Regions from separate parts of the Homo sapiens genome. Here regions 1 and 2 are each linked to region 3. The links are contacts of gene promoters, found by promoter capture Hi-C in blood cells and fetal thymus (Javierre and others, 2016). All regions are on one chromosome and are shown on one strand. Each heading gives the region's core, a stretch centred on a gene start or on the middle of the fragment in contact. The rest is flanking DNA. Distances are from core to core; before and after follow the strand shown. Region 1 overlaps ZBBX (zinc finger B-box domain containing). Region 2 has its middle 4.0 kb from the start of ZBBX. Region 3 holds the start of WDR49 (WD repeat domain 49).

Region 1 (4,815 bases), core at 598-3,097, 290 kb before region 3:
TTGAAATCATCAATTTTTCTATGAACCACACTTTTATTTTTAAATTGCTAATGTTATACAAGTTACAGATAATCTAATCTCATTTTTCATAACCAAATTATCCAGTATGACTACCTTAATGATACATCTGAATTGAAACATGATCAGTGTGGTTGTAGGCTACCCTGGATGGAATGGATAGATATGCCCAAGCAAAATGAACCCATTATTAGGGAAATTGTATAATTTGTTTTTATTATTATGAATAATATTGTTCTGCTCTATGAATACAGCCATATTTATTTCAAGTGATTCAAACTGCATAAAAATATTTCAGTGAACAAACCTCTAGCTGCTATTTTTAGACAAATAGAATTTCCTCATAGGTCTGATTTTTATCTGTTAGGGAAAGGGTTGGAGGTAGGGTTGAACCAAGGATACACATGCTTACACAAACACACATATACACATATATGCGCATGTACATATACATATATAATACATGCATATGTATATATACATATAGATAGAAAGATGGATATCTGCATATGTTTGTATATACAAATGTCAGGAACTTAATATACTAAAGCCTATGCCTTATTAACATGCTGACTCCTCCACCAGTAGGTATTGAAGGGGTGCTATCAGGGGCCAGGAAAGCTTAGTGGATTTACCACACAGACATATTATCTATGCCACTGGGGTCAGAATATGCTGTCATCATCAGCCTCCCTGGCATTCACAAATACCTCCGAACTCCCACCAATGCCTTCATCTGCCACACTGAGCCCAAACTTCTCCTACAGTCATCTTTCAGACGTTCTCACTGTCAACCCAGTTAGCTACTGAAACTTCGCAATTCTGTACTAATTGTCCTTCCTTCCAAGCCCCCACTGCCATTCCGTGGATCTTCTATTAAATAGTCATTTATGTATCTTATGCTTTAAACCTTTCCCAAAAATGTTTCATCAAAAGTTTACATCAACTGAAAGCCACCTTTGCTTAGACACAATCTTCACCAAAGCACTTCCCACAGGACCTAGCCCCTTTCCACTTCCTTTCACATACCAGGAAAGAGAAAATTTTTCTATTTGCTCTTCAGTGCTGTTTCCAGAATATTATTGTGCTATCATGATTCAGCAAAGGTGCCTCTACTATAGGTCCCCACCATCCACTTATTGCTTGTGTCAATATCTAGGGTCTCTTCCACCTGAACTTCAGCAACCTGCTCGGTATTTCTCTCCATCACATTTCTGCTTGACAGTCTTAGAGACTTCAATGCACATGTTCACCTGACATCCTGGTTTGAAGACCCTCCAACATGCTGGCTACTGTGAACATCTAAATGCCTCTTCAGCCACCTCACCATTATAACCAAATCTGGCATGTAAGCAGCATTCTGAATAGCCACACCTTCAAAATCTCAGACTCTAAAGTTTTTCAGTGCCAACCTCAATCACCTTATCTCTTCCTTCTGATGCCTCCAATATCTATGTACCACTGTGATAAAAATAATACTATAGAGCCTCCTACAAATCCATGCTGATCAGCCTCAATGGGCTATATGGCTCTTTGGCAATCCATTTACTCATTTGCTGCTAATCCCCAACCACAATTCCCACAGTGGCTACTCCAAACCTCTTCATTCCCAAGAACTCAAATTCATCCCATTTCCCTTAATTCACCTGAGCAGACGATATTGTCTTCAACTGTCCTAAGAAAGTTGAGGTCTTCCCATTAAAATCTTTCAGTGTCCCACCTCACCACTTGTCAAAAACAATCTCTAAAATTTATTTTCATTGCCACCTGTTTTTTCTTCCACCTTTCTTGTCTCACACACACACAAAAAATATGTCTTCCTTTCCTTGGTGAAGGCCTCTTTAATGGACTACCTCTTCAAAGACCACACACCCAGCAACTGGCACCTCTTTCATCTACATTTTGACTCTTTCCTCTACTAGGATGTCCATCTTTCATTCTACAAACTGGCCCACATCATCTTGACAATTCTAGAAAAGAATATAATAAAGTCTTTCCTTGATTCTATTAAACCCTTGAAAGGTCACCAACTGCTTTCATGCTGGCTGCAACAATAGTCTTTACTCATTGCTTCCCACCGTTTTCTTTTCAACCAATTGAAATCTACTCTCTTATTTAATATTGACACAATCATCAAATTTAGGTCTTTTAAATATTTTCATTATCCAGAAATAGACATTTTAATGTAATGTTTAGGTATCATTACAAAGTGGTTTCACATATTTCAAGAGTTTTTGACATTGCTCAAAAGCTCTTTGAAGTGGTTAGTAGGTATTATTATGCAAGTTTACAAGTGTAGTAATAGAGGCTTGGAAAGGTTAAGTGAATGTTAATCTATATAATCTAATACAGAGTTTCTAGACCTCAGCATCACTGACATTTGGGGCCGAATAATTCTTTGTTGTGGGGATTGTCAAGTGCATTGTAGGATGTTTAGCAGCACCCCTGGCCCTTACTCACTATATATCTTTAGCAAAAAAAAAAAATACGCAAAAACAACAACAACAACAAAAATATACCTCTCAATGTTAACAACTGAAAATGTCTCCAGACTTTGTCAAATGTCTCCTGGGAAGCAAAATTGCCCCCTTCAGAAACACTAGTCTAAATAGATACTCAAAACTTTTTTCACTACACAATATATTGGACATTATTGACTTCATATTTTCCAAAAATGTTCTCCTTTACTTTCGTCCTTATAACATTGAACTACTTCGATTTTACTTCGCCATTCTTTTTCTTCTCAATCTCTCTTCACTAGAGAGCTGGCAAATTATCTTAGACAAGCCTGAGAGCTTACATGTCAAATCTTGGCCCTGACTTTTGACCTTGAGTGAGTTATTTAGTTTTTTTTTATATTAAGTTATTTCATCTGTGAAACTGGAATAATAATAACATCCTCTTAGGAGTGATATAAGCACTTAATGAGATAAGAAAGGAAAAGAAGCGAAACTGTTGACTGGTATTAAAACTTATTGAGCTTATTGAGTGAATATTAAAGTTCTCTTTGCCAATATAGTTTACACACTGGCTTTCTTTAAGCTTTATTCTTTACACCTCTCTATGTTTTACAAATCCTAGGGAGTACATTTACTCCCTTAACTTCAACTATCACTTGAAAATTCAAACAAAACTCTAAATGTATACCCCGTACTTTTCTAAGTCCTTTCTTTATGCTGTCTCTTAGTCAATCCAGCCTGTAATATCAATTATATGTTTGACTTCCTCCTCTCCTTTCTCACTGTTTTATGGTTCCATATTTTTCTTTATATATGTTTTCCTACCCTTTTAATTCAGCCTCCTTTCATCTGACCTCTAGATTATTTTAATAGTCTTACAAATAGCCTGTTTCTAGTGAGATAAGTTTTTTTTAAACGTTGGGGTCAAAACTTTTATAATTGATTTTTCCCTAAGATAGGGAATGACACCAGAGAATAAAACGCTTTCTCAAAGCCAAAAACTTTAGAAGCGCCAAGTAAGATCTTTGTAGATTCCAACTGACCCAATGAAAGTTTAATGATAGGTACGTAAAAAATAAAAACTGTGTAAGCTAATACTTACAAAGTCACGAATCTTGCACTAAAGAATCCAGAAGCAAAATTGTTTTCTTTATGTAAAGACACTTATCTGATTTTCATCTTAAATATAATATTATATTTTATAGCACACAGTAAAGGAGCAGCAATTCTATAGCTGGGAAACTGAAAAGTATTTTTTTCTTGAGTATCTTTACACATGGAATCAACAGTATATGAATAATAAATTATTATTGAAGCAGAATATAAAACATTAAACTAATGTGATATAAAAGTAGGAATAAAGTCTCTCATTTGTTATATTAAATAACAATAGCTTTCACCTTAGTTTAGAAGTATTTAGTTCTATTTTATATACTTTAAACCAGATCCACACTGAATGGAAAAATTCAGTTTGGGATGTGGGAAAATTCACTGCAAGGTAAAATTTTGAAATCAGTTTGTAGCTGAAAAACAAAAACATAATTGAATAATGAAAGTTGCATATTACCCTGCAAAATAAATCAACAAGTGAATAATATGCAAAGTTGTTAAAATAAGAAGAGTATATTCCTGAGTATAGAAGAAAATGCAAGACCTAAAAAAGAATATCTTCTTGCTTAGCAAAATGCATAAGAATCAAATAGTATCTTCTTACCTTAACAACATTTCCTTTATTTTGTGACATCATATATGATTGATTGACCAATTTGCCCACTTTTCCAGATTTCCAGTAATACTCGCTTGACCTTTAATATATATAAACAAGATAAAATGTAATCACTAAACACATTTCTCCCTTTAATGAAAAGAAATACAGTGTTCCTGTTTCAGAAAATGGAAATTCAGTTGTTAACATGCAGTAAACAAGCAAAACATGAAAAATAAATATCAATAATGTCACAATATCCTCAGTAATTTTAAAATGTAGCTTTATCATATTTATGACCTTTGTGGAGAAATGAATAAAATGAAATGTCCAAACACAAATGAAGAATTCTATTTCCTTGATATTCACAATGACTAAAGATAGCTTTATTGATTTGTAGGAAACTTTACAGGTCTTTATGAAATTTTAAAAGCTAAATGTCCACAAATGTAAAGAAGAAAAGCAAGCAAACCAATACCCCAAAATATTCAGTGGATCTAGTAAGTGATGAATTCCTTGTTAAAACCTCTAATGATCTCCCACATTGAAACATAACAGAGATTACAAAGAAGGCATACTTTAGCTGTACAGTTTTTAAAGCACTTGAGCTTTGTTTACTTGAGCATAACAAAA
Region 2 (4,584 bases), core at 458-2,957, 270 kb before region 3:
CCTCACTTCTACAAAGGACTTTTACTCCAAAAAATGATTCTTACAATGCATTTACTTACACAATAGTAAAATTAAACTCATAAAAATAATGTATAAAGTATTCTTGCACTTTTTGAAAGCATTAAAAGAACATTATCTTATATTTAGAAAAATAGCTTATGCACAGTTATGAAAAGGCAAAGCAGAGACAAAAACTAAGCCTATGCTAAGTCACATAGTAAAATAAAAAGTATGAAGTGCTTGTCTTTCAGAATGATGATTAGTGACAAAATGAAATGAAACATGTCAAAACAATTACAGCTCTAGAGAGATGATATTCTCTCCACTGAAGTAAAATGCGTTTAACTGGCACACCAGCAATGCCGCACACAGTTTACCACAACTATATCAAGAGCACAGTATTCCTGAGGGTTTTTCCAAACTCATGCTTCTTTGTGCCACAGTGGAGACAAGGTTTGAATACAAGTTTTCTGAACTGGAGATATTCAATTTAAAGAGATAAAAATTACCGGCAATGCAGAAATTAAGAGCACAGATTTACATGACTCATTTTACTAAGCTTGAAATAAGGGTCAGGGACTGTAAACAAGCATTATCCAAAACTTAGAAATAAGGTAAAGCCAAAAACAGCATGTCTTTTCAATGCCATACTAGAATACTGTTTAAGATAATCTGAGCATTACATGATTTTCTAAAAAAAAGTGTTGCTTTTCTTATCATTAACTATTGATAAAGTCTCTGTGTAATGTTGTATGTTTATTTGAAGATTTTTTCACCTGCATTTTTCATATCATTTGTATCTGGATATGTAAATAATGTCTTTCCTTTAAATAAAATAATTTCAAAGCTAATGGTTTTATTGCACTATACAACTTTAACCAGTTTTGTATCTAACCTAGAAATCTCATACTAATATTTTATCTCAATTCCTATATACAGTCAGCTACCAAATTTTCTTTGAACCAGCTTTACCATTCTAATAATTCCGTCCTTAATGAATTAAACTGTATCACATGTATATTCTCTACTTAAAGAATATCTTGTTTTTAAGTATTGCAATTATATTTTGATAATACCAAACCTTTGGAAGAAAATGGGACAAATATCATATCTGCAGCTTTCCAGAAGTATTCTCTCAATTTCCATTTGCTCTTTGGCCCTTCAGATTCTTTTATAGGCAAAAGTTTGTGGGCATTTCAAGGTAGCAAAACCAAATTCCTACCATCTCCTTTTTTACAAGCCCTGAAATGTGGTTTTACTTTTACATGAAGCATCTACTTTCTTTATGCCTTGGTAAATGCTAAATATAACATCCTATTACATATGTATGGGGTTTTTCAACTTGTCAAGAAAACTGAGCTTTAGAGACAACATAAAATTACAAAAAATCCTTAGCAAAAACCAAATTAGTATGATATAAATATATTTAAATGCATCCGAATGGCTAAACTTGAGGAAGAATAAAAAGAAACTTAGAGTTAAGAGGTGACATTGGCCTTTTATAATTTTTCTCGGCTTTGTAATTTCTGCCTATCATCCATGACACAGAATTTCTAAGCAAATAAATTTTCATAACACAAGGCAATTATTACTGATGCTTCACAAATGGAGGAGAATCATCAGGGCCTATGATAAATTTTCGATTCCTGCAATGTGCAGTGTCTTCCAAATTGAAAAATAAATGTATAGCCTTGTTGAATGAGCATAGTTAAATTTAATCAACATTTATTCAACACCTGTTCTATTCCAGGCACGGCCCTAAGATAGGTACAAAGGTGAACAAAGACACCGTCTCTGTCCTTGAGTAATTCAAGTGAGAGTTTGCAACTAATTAATATGTAATGTATTAAGTACTACGTTCAAAAAGAATGGGAGCATTACATGTTTGTGGCATGGGCAGAATTTCTAGTTGGTTCAAACATAGTATATGTGGCAAAAAGATAAGAATGAAAAGTTGTGCTAGGAGCACATTAAAAAGCACTTTGAATGTTACCCTATTCACAATGGAAACTGTGAAATTTTCTTTTCTTCTCTCCTCTTAATACCCTCAAATAATTTTTAAAGCAGATCTTTAAGCATCTCAGTATGTGTATAGCCGCATCTTTCAAGGGTAATTCTGGTGGCAATGTAAAAATAGAGCAAGTGGAAAAGAGGAGGACAAGAGACACTTTTAAAATATGGTTATATTAGTCCAAGATAGAAATAATAAGTCTTGAATAAATCAAGGCAGAGGGCAGAGGCCAAGTGAAACAGTTTCAAAGGATTTTGTAAACTCTCAATAGGGCTTGGAAAGTACAGATACATGGTTAGCTAGGAATATGGAACAGAGCTGCTTGTCTCTACATTTGATAGCTTGGTAAATAAGTAGATGGTACTGATAACCAGCCGTGGAAGAGCAAGAGAATAAATAAGCTCACAGAGAGTGGGGTCAAGAAGGCAGGGCAGACTGAGTTTTTACTTTTGCAATAGCAGTAGGGAGGAATACAAAAATATGACATAGCTCTAGTTACTTAGGAGACAACCATATATATTAGGTTACCATCAGCATGTAATCAGATAGTAACCAGAGCTGAAGGAAAAGTTTAAATTGTCCAAGGATTTCTCGGAGAAACTACAGAAGACATAGTATTGAGAGAGGCATTCATTCAGCATTCCTAAAATAGACCAATATAAAACCCATATGTGACCTTCTTTATCCAGCAGTGTTTTTACTGCAGGGTCTCTGCAAATGAGGTTGGCAACCTGAATGAATTTATTCCTGTAATCATCTATTCTTCTCAGTGTTCTCATGCATTTACTGCAGACAAGCATGCACTACATCAGCTGGTAAAAAAGAAGAACTAGCACTGGTCATTGAAGCTTGCATTGCCAATATCAACATTCCTAATACAAAACTTTTTAAATTGTTGGTGTATATATGGGTCCAGAGAAGGTGAAGACACAATTCACATGATGGAGTCTTTAGAAAGTCAGTTTCAAAAAACAGAACACTTTATTTGAACATAAATAACATTATTTTCACTATAACCTCAATTTAATACAATCATGTGTCTCTTAATGATGAGGATATGTTCTAAGAAATATGTGATTAGGTTATTTTGTCATTGTACAAACATCAAAGAGTGAACTGACACAAACCTAGATGTTATACACCTAGGCTATTTGGTATAGCCTATTGCTTCTAGACTATAAGCCCTTATAGCATGCTACTGTACTGAATACTATACACAACTCTAACACAATGGTCAGTATTTGTGTATCTAAGCATATGTAAACACAGAAAAAGGACTGCCAAAATGCAGTATAAAAGACAAAAAAAATGGAATACCTATATAGGGCACTTACCGTAATTAGAGTTGGCAGAACTGGAAGTTGCTTTGGATGAGTGAGTAGGTACTATAGACTTTATAAACACTATAAACTTAGGCTACCCTAAATTTTTTTTAAAAATTTCATTCTTTTAATATAAATTAGCCTTACCTTCCTGTAACTTTACTTTATAAACTTATAATTTTTTTAAACTTTTTGACCCTTTTGTAATGACAACTCAAAACAAACACATCGTACAGATGTACACAAAATTTTTTTTCCTTATATACTTATCTATAAGCCTTTTTCTATTTATTCCTTCTAATTTTAAAACTGTTTTTGTTAAAAACTAAGACACAAACACATGTATTACCCAAGCCCTACACAGAGTCAGGATCATCAAGACATCCCCAGGCGATAAGTAATTTTTCAGCTCCATTATAATCATATGGGGCCACCATTGTATATGTCATCCCGTCACTGACTGAAACTTACATGGTGCATAACTGTATAAGGTTAGTGTTTCTTAGTTCCACCCAAGGATTGATAAGCAGATATGGTGGACAACAATAATCTGCCACTCTTCCTCCTGCCTTTGCCTGCCAACAATCTGTCAGTCTTGGCAGCCATGTTTCATTATGTGACCCAACCTACCCTTGTAATGGTTTATTGAACAGGAGTCCAAACTGAACCAGTCAGATACTCTCCTGTGAGAATAAGAGATTGAGATTGAGAGAGAAAATCATGGGGCAAAAATATTCTGTCATTTGGACAGAAGAAAGAAAGAAAGGATAAAAGGTAAAAAAAGAAAAAATAAAGGATGGAAGTAGAGGCAGGGAGAGAAGGAAGCAAAGATGAGAGACAGATTTCAGATTTTCTGGAAATTTTCCCCTTCCTGAAGACTAGCTACATCCAAAAATGATACACTCCTGCATCTTTAAAATAAAATTCCCTTATTAATTACTTAAACTAGGATGGATTGTTTTGGTTGTGCAGAACAGAGAACCCTGACTTAAATGACTACCAGAAGAATCATAAAGTAAAACCAAAGTAACTTTCTTTATAAGGAAACTCCAAAGTATAGATTCCCAGAGAATTCTTTTAAACAGCAGTAGAGCGTTGATCTGTAACTCTCATAATTGCAAATTAATATTCTTGCATAGGCATATATAAGTGAGTTGTTCTAGCATGCTTTTGAAGTCATCTCCTCAAAAAAAAGCTAAAATCTCTTGTTTATTTTTTAATCACTTAAGTTTCTTAGTTTATTTGCTTTAA
Region 3 (4,455 bases), core at 1,642-4,141:
CTAAATGTTACTACTACGATTAGTATGGTATGTGATATTTTATTCGGAAATACACGTAAAACATTTACTGCATAATTCAAAGACCCAACTTCCTGTTTTTTCACTTAAGAATTGCCACTGCTATTTAAGGAGATGGACTTCACCTAATATCTGACAACTCTTCAGCCCCAAACAAGCAATCTGTGTAAGAAAAAAAAAATGAAGATATAAAGGAATCTGGTGCCAGAATCTTGACATTTCTAAGAGCATGTCCTTAGTAACTGGACCACAAATCACTGCCTTTAGAGTTCAAAGTTGCAGGAATGCTATTGAGGGCATTTTATCCTTTTACAGCAATCTATACCTGTGGCCTCTGGGCCTAAAACTCATGACAGATGGACTGGATACCATTAAAGTCATCTAGTGCATCATTCTTCTTTAGGTGTCCGTGCTGTGTTTGGAAATCATGTTGGCTCAAAGGTCTAACTTTTAGTACTGGCTGCACATGTGCCATGGGATTATTCCATTCTCTGGCTGTTGAGTCTGCTAAAATGGATGAACTTCATTTTTTTTTTTTGAAGGTACACCTGCAAAGCTCAATTTCTTTTTTAGAAAAACTGTCTATGTTCATACAAGCTCCGAATTACCTTCTCTTCTCCTCTTTGGTCCATTAGTTCCTGCTTTTCCAACCGGTAATGTCAAAATAAGTGGTCTGGCCTTTGAAATATTTAACATAAAATAGAAATAAATTAAAACTTGAGGTTGAATTTTCCAGTTTCACTTGGGTTCATTCAAGACTAATCTGCAGTTTGGAAAGAACACCCACCTCTAACCTTCTGAAGCAGTTTCACCAACACATCAACTTTATAATGTAGACTCTCCTAATAGGCCCTAGCATTCAAATTCTTTGTGTTCTTAGCACCGGAACAAAACTGCCACATTTCTGTTCACTATAGAGTCAAAGCTGTCATAATCTGCTGTTATGTTTTACTGAATGTCCTCAAGCTGTCAAAATGTTTGCTATGTCTATCAAAATATGCTAAATTTACTTGGGGCACTGGGCATGAGCAGCAGCAGTGAAATCTTTCAGACAAATGAGGTTGGTTGAATAGCAAATATATGAAGGTTGAAATGAGAAAAGTGTAGGACAGAGCATGTCTTGCTACTAAATATGATAAGTTCTATTATAAAGAAATGATTGATACTATTGGGACATTAATTTATCAATACAGGTGGAACCCAACTTGTTATATTCTTTTGTGGATATCCAAAGATAAAAATGTGTGCCTATTACAGGCTAATATATTGTGAGCTTTTATTATATTTTATTAATTTCCAGGTGGTATTCCAAAATATTTTCTATTTCAAATTAGTATGGATACTCCAAGCACCCACGGACAATCTTAAGAAGGCCCTAGATCATACTTTAGTAAACATAATATAGTAGAAATGTTGGAGGCTCATGACTACCTAAATTCTACGTCATGGAAGAGCACTTCTTTCTACCCATATTTGAAACTAAAAACCACTTTGATGTATGCTGTTCATTATGCATAGCTGCAGAATTCAAAATTCATTGACTAAGAGAGAAGAAAATTATTCATTTACAGTTAAATTCCTATGGTTTATTTTTTATGCAGAGTTAAAATGAAAAATTCTAATTTTGTTTTTATTGGCATTGTTCCAGGATTTACAAAATGAGTGGGAGACTCGTCCCTCATAAGGGATCTTGGGACAACAAAGTGCCAGAATCAGCTTAGAAAAGGAGCTGTGCCACTTAGGGTGAGTGAGACAGGAGGAAATTTTTTGCAAACTGGGTATGCATATTTGCATTTGCTGAGTTCTATGTCCGTATTAAATGCAAGAACAATTATTCCTGGAGGTCACCTTAGAGATCTGGCTTTCTTCACTCACAGCCATAATTTTTTGTTTCCCCAAAATATGTTGATCTCTAAGAAAAAAATTTTTTCCAACAATAAATAGTTCTTTCTTGATAGTAATGAAATTCAGTGAAGCAATTTCAAACTAAAGAATATTATTTGGCCCAAAGAACTGAGGGGCAAAGCTACCAAGCACATTGTGTTAAATCCAGGCCTAACCAATTATTTTTAATTCTCTGCTATAACAATTAAGTGTATTTTTTTAATGCTTAAAGAAAAATATCTCTGTGTTTCATTCTAGGCTCCTTCATGAACAACTCAAACTATCTGGTCAATAAGCTTCACACTTACCTCAAAGGCCTTCTGTATTTTTACAAAGTCACCCACGCTGAGTTGGTTTTCAAGCAGGCCTGTGCCATAGTCTTCAAATGCAGTTACACCTTCTGTTCTCTCAGGACTCTTTGGCCCAAGCTGTGACCCTATGTTTAACTCAAGTACAGCTTTCTGGCAACTCATAATGGCTTCACCTTTTCTCAGTTGCCTTCAACTATTTCTATAAGGATGGATCTTCTTTTTCCTTCAACAGGTGCCTTTGAAAAGAAACTCAACTTAGCAACAGAATTCCAAAATGAAAGTACAAACCTTTCAAGGCATACGATCAGGAGGCAAAATGTTCAAGCTGAGGTAGGAAATGAAAGCCCTCAACCCTCTCACTTATTTGATTCTAGAGTTTATTTTCAAAATTTACAGTTGAATGCTTTTAAAATGGTATTTTTACCCCTTCCTTATACTCTGTTTAACCTGGCTTGATTAAAAATGTGTAAAGCTTTCCCCACATTTATAGTAACTGACACAGAAAACAACTTCCAATCCTCATTTTAAATGCATTAGAAAAGCACCTTCCCAAAAATCTCTTTAACTAACCTTGCTTCCATTAACATGTTGTAGTTTTCAATTCCACTTTCTTGTCTGGAAGAGTTAGATGACAAAGCTGCAGAGTTTCCCTACCAATGAAGTACTTGACTCTGAATGCCACCTTCCCAGCAATGTGGAGTTGTTTGTTTCATCTGTTCTGATCCTTTTGTATGTTTCCTGGCAACCAACACAAAGCCAACTAAAACTTTCCCTTTCACTTCCCCCTCTCCAACTGAAAGTTTAAATATATAATGTAAATGTTGAAATGGTTTTTTTTGAAATAAAAGGACAGTTCATTCCACTCATTTTTTATTAAACGACATCTTGTATTATTTAAAGACAACTTTTACCATTATATAGGATATATATTATGAAACTATATGATTAGTCAAAGAGAAAAGCATGAAATTCTGGAATTTTATGTTTTATACACAGAAAATGTTTTATTTTTATATAAAAGGAATCTGTTTCTTATATTCTTTTTGTCTTAGTTTCTATGTATATAAAATAGAGATGGTTCAAAAAAGCTTCCAACTTGTTGAAAATGTGATAAAAAAACACAGCATAACATAATATGATAAATCTAATGATAAAATTGCTTGCAGTGTCATTACTGGTTCAGCTAATAATAATGAAAAGGAGGAGAAAAAGAAGAAAAATTAACATTTTTTGAGTATTAACCATGTGCCAGGCACTAAAACTTTATGTTCATTGTCTTGTTTAAGCTTCACAACAATCCTACAAGGCAGATGTGATCATTATCCCCATTTTACTGATAAAGAAGCAAAAAGCCGGGCAAGGTGGCTCACGCCTGTAATCCCTGCACTTTGGGAGGCTGAGGCAGGTGGATGGCTTCAGCTCAGGAGTTCGAGAGCAGCCTGGGCAACATGACGAGACATTGTATCTAGTAAAAATACAAAAATAATCAGCCGAGCATGGTGGCGCACACCTGTGATCCCAGCTACTCGGGAGGCTGAGTTAGAAGGATCCCTTGAACCTGGGGGGCAGAGGTTGCAGTGAGCCAAGATTGTGCCACTGCACTCCAGCCTGGGCAACAGAATGAGACCCTGTCTCAAAAAAGAAAAAAAAAAAAAGCAAAGAAAATGCCAAAGGTCACACAAATAGTAACATACGGAAGAGAACAGAATGGCTCCCAAACTTCAGATACTGCATGTATTAGTCTGTTTTCACACTGCTAATGAAGACATACCTGAGACTGGGTAATTTATAAAGGAAAGAGGTTTAATTGACTCATAATTTCACATGGCTGGGGAGGCCTCAAAATCATGACAGAAAGCTAATGAGGGCAAAGTCATGACTTACATGGCAGTAGGCAAGACAGCATGTGCAGGGTAACTCCCATTTATAAAACCATCAGATCTCATGAGACTTATTCACTACCAGGAGAACAGTATGGGGAAACCGCCCCCTTGAGTCAATTATCTCCACCTGGCCACGCCCTTGTCATGTGAGGATTATTACAATTCAAGGTGAGATTTGGGTGGGGACACTGCCCAACTGTATCACTGCACTTTAGATGGATGTGCCCGTTGCACTTTATTTTCACTTCTGTAAACTAAAAAGTTGGCATTACATCTTCTCTAGGGTCTCTTCCGGCTCTAACATTCTCTGAGCTGGTGTTCACTAGAGGCATGGTACAGAACAGAGAGAAGAGCATCCT

The links. The method cuts DNA at HindIII sites, captures the fragments that hold promoters and counts their contacts. A CHiCAGO score of 5 or more calls a contact.
Region 1: a contact is called between a fragment that was not itself captured here and the fragment with the promoter of WDR49 in region 3, in 1 of 17 cell types (monocytes). The highest score is 6.9, in monocytes.
Region 2: a fragment that was not itself captured here is called in contact with the fragment with the promoter of WDR49 in region 3 in 8 of 17 cell types (monocytes, naive B cells, M2 macrophages and 5 more); the score reaches 20.6 in monocytes.

What each region holds. Positions count from the first base shown.
Region 1 is chr3:167,361,695-167,366,509 of GRCh38, forward strand. ZBBX (zinc finger B-box domain containing) reads right to left here. Exons shown (of 22, transcript NM_001199201.2): 6 at 4,192-4,282. Among named protein-coding and RNA genes, the nearest start is that of ZBBX, 16 kb to the right of the region's middle. The HindIII fragment of the contact is 2,421 bases long and covers 638-3,058 here.
Region 2 is chr3:167,382,043-167,386,626 of GRCh38, forward strand. It overlaps a transcript of ZBBX not described here. Among named protein-coding and RNA genes, the nearest start is that of ZBBX, 4.0 kb to the left of the region's middle. The HindIII fragment of the contact is 2,300 bases long and covers 558-2,857 here.
Region 3 is chr3:167,651,051-167,655,505 of GRCh38, forward strand. It overlaps WDR49 (WD repeat domain 49), which reads right to left and starts at 2,892. Exons shown (of 19, transcript NM_001366157.1): 1 at 2,784-2,892; 2 at 2,211-2,449. The coding sequence starts at 2,375. RefSeq lists enhancers at 2,106-2,629, 2,630-3,152. The HindIII fragment of the contact is 616 bases long and covers 2,684-3,299 here.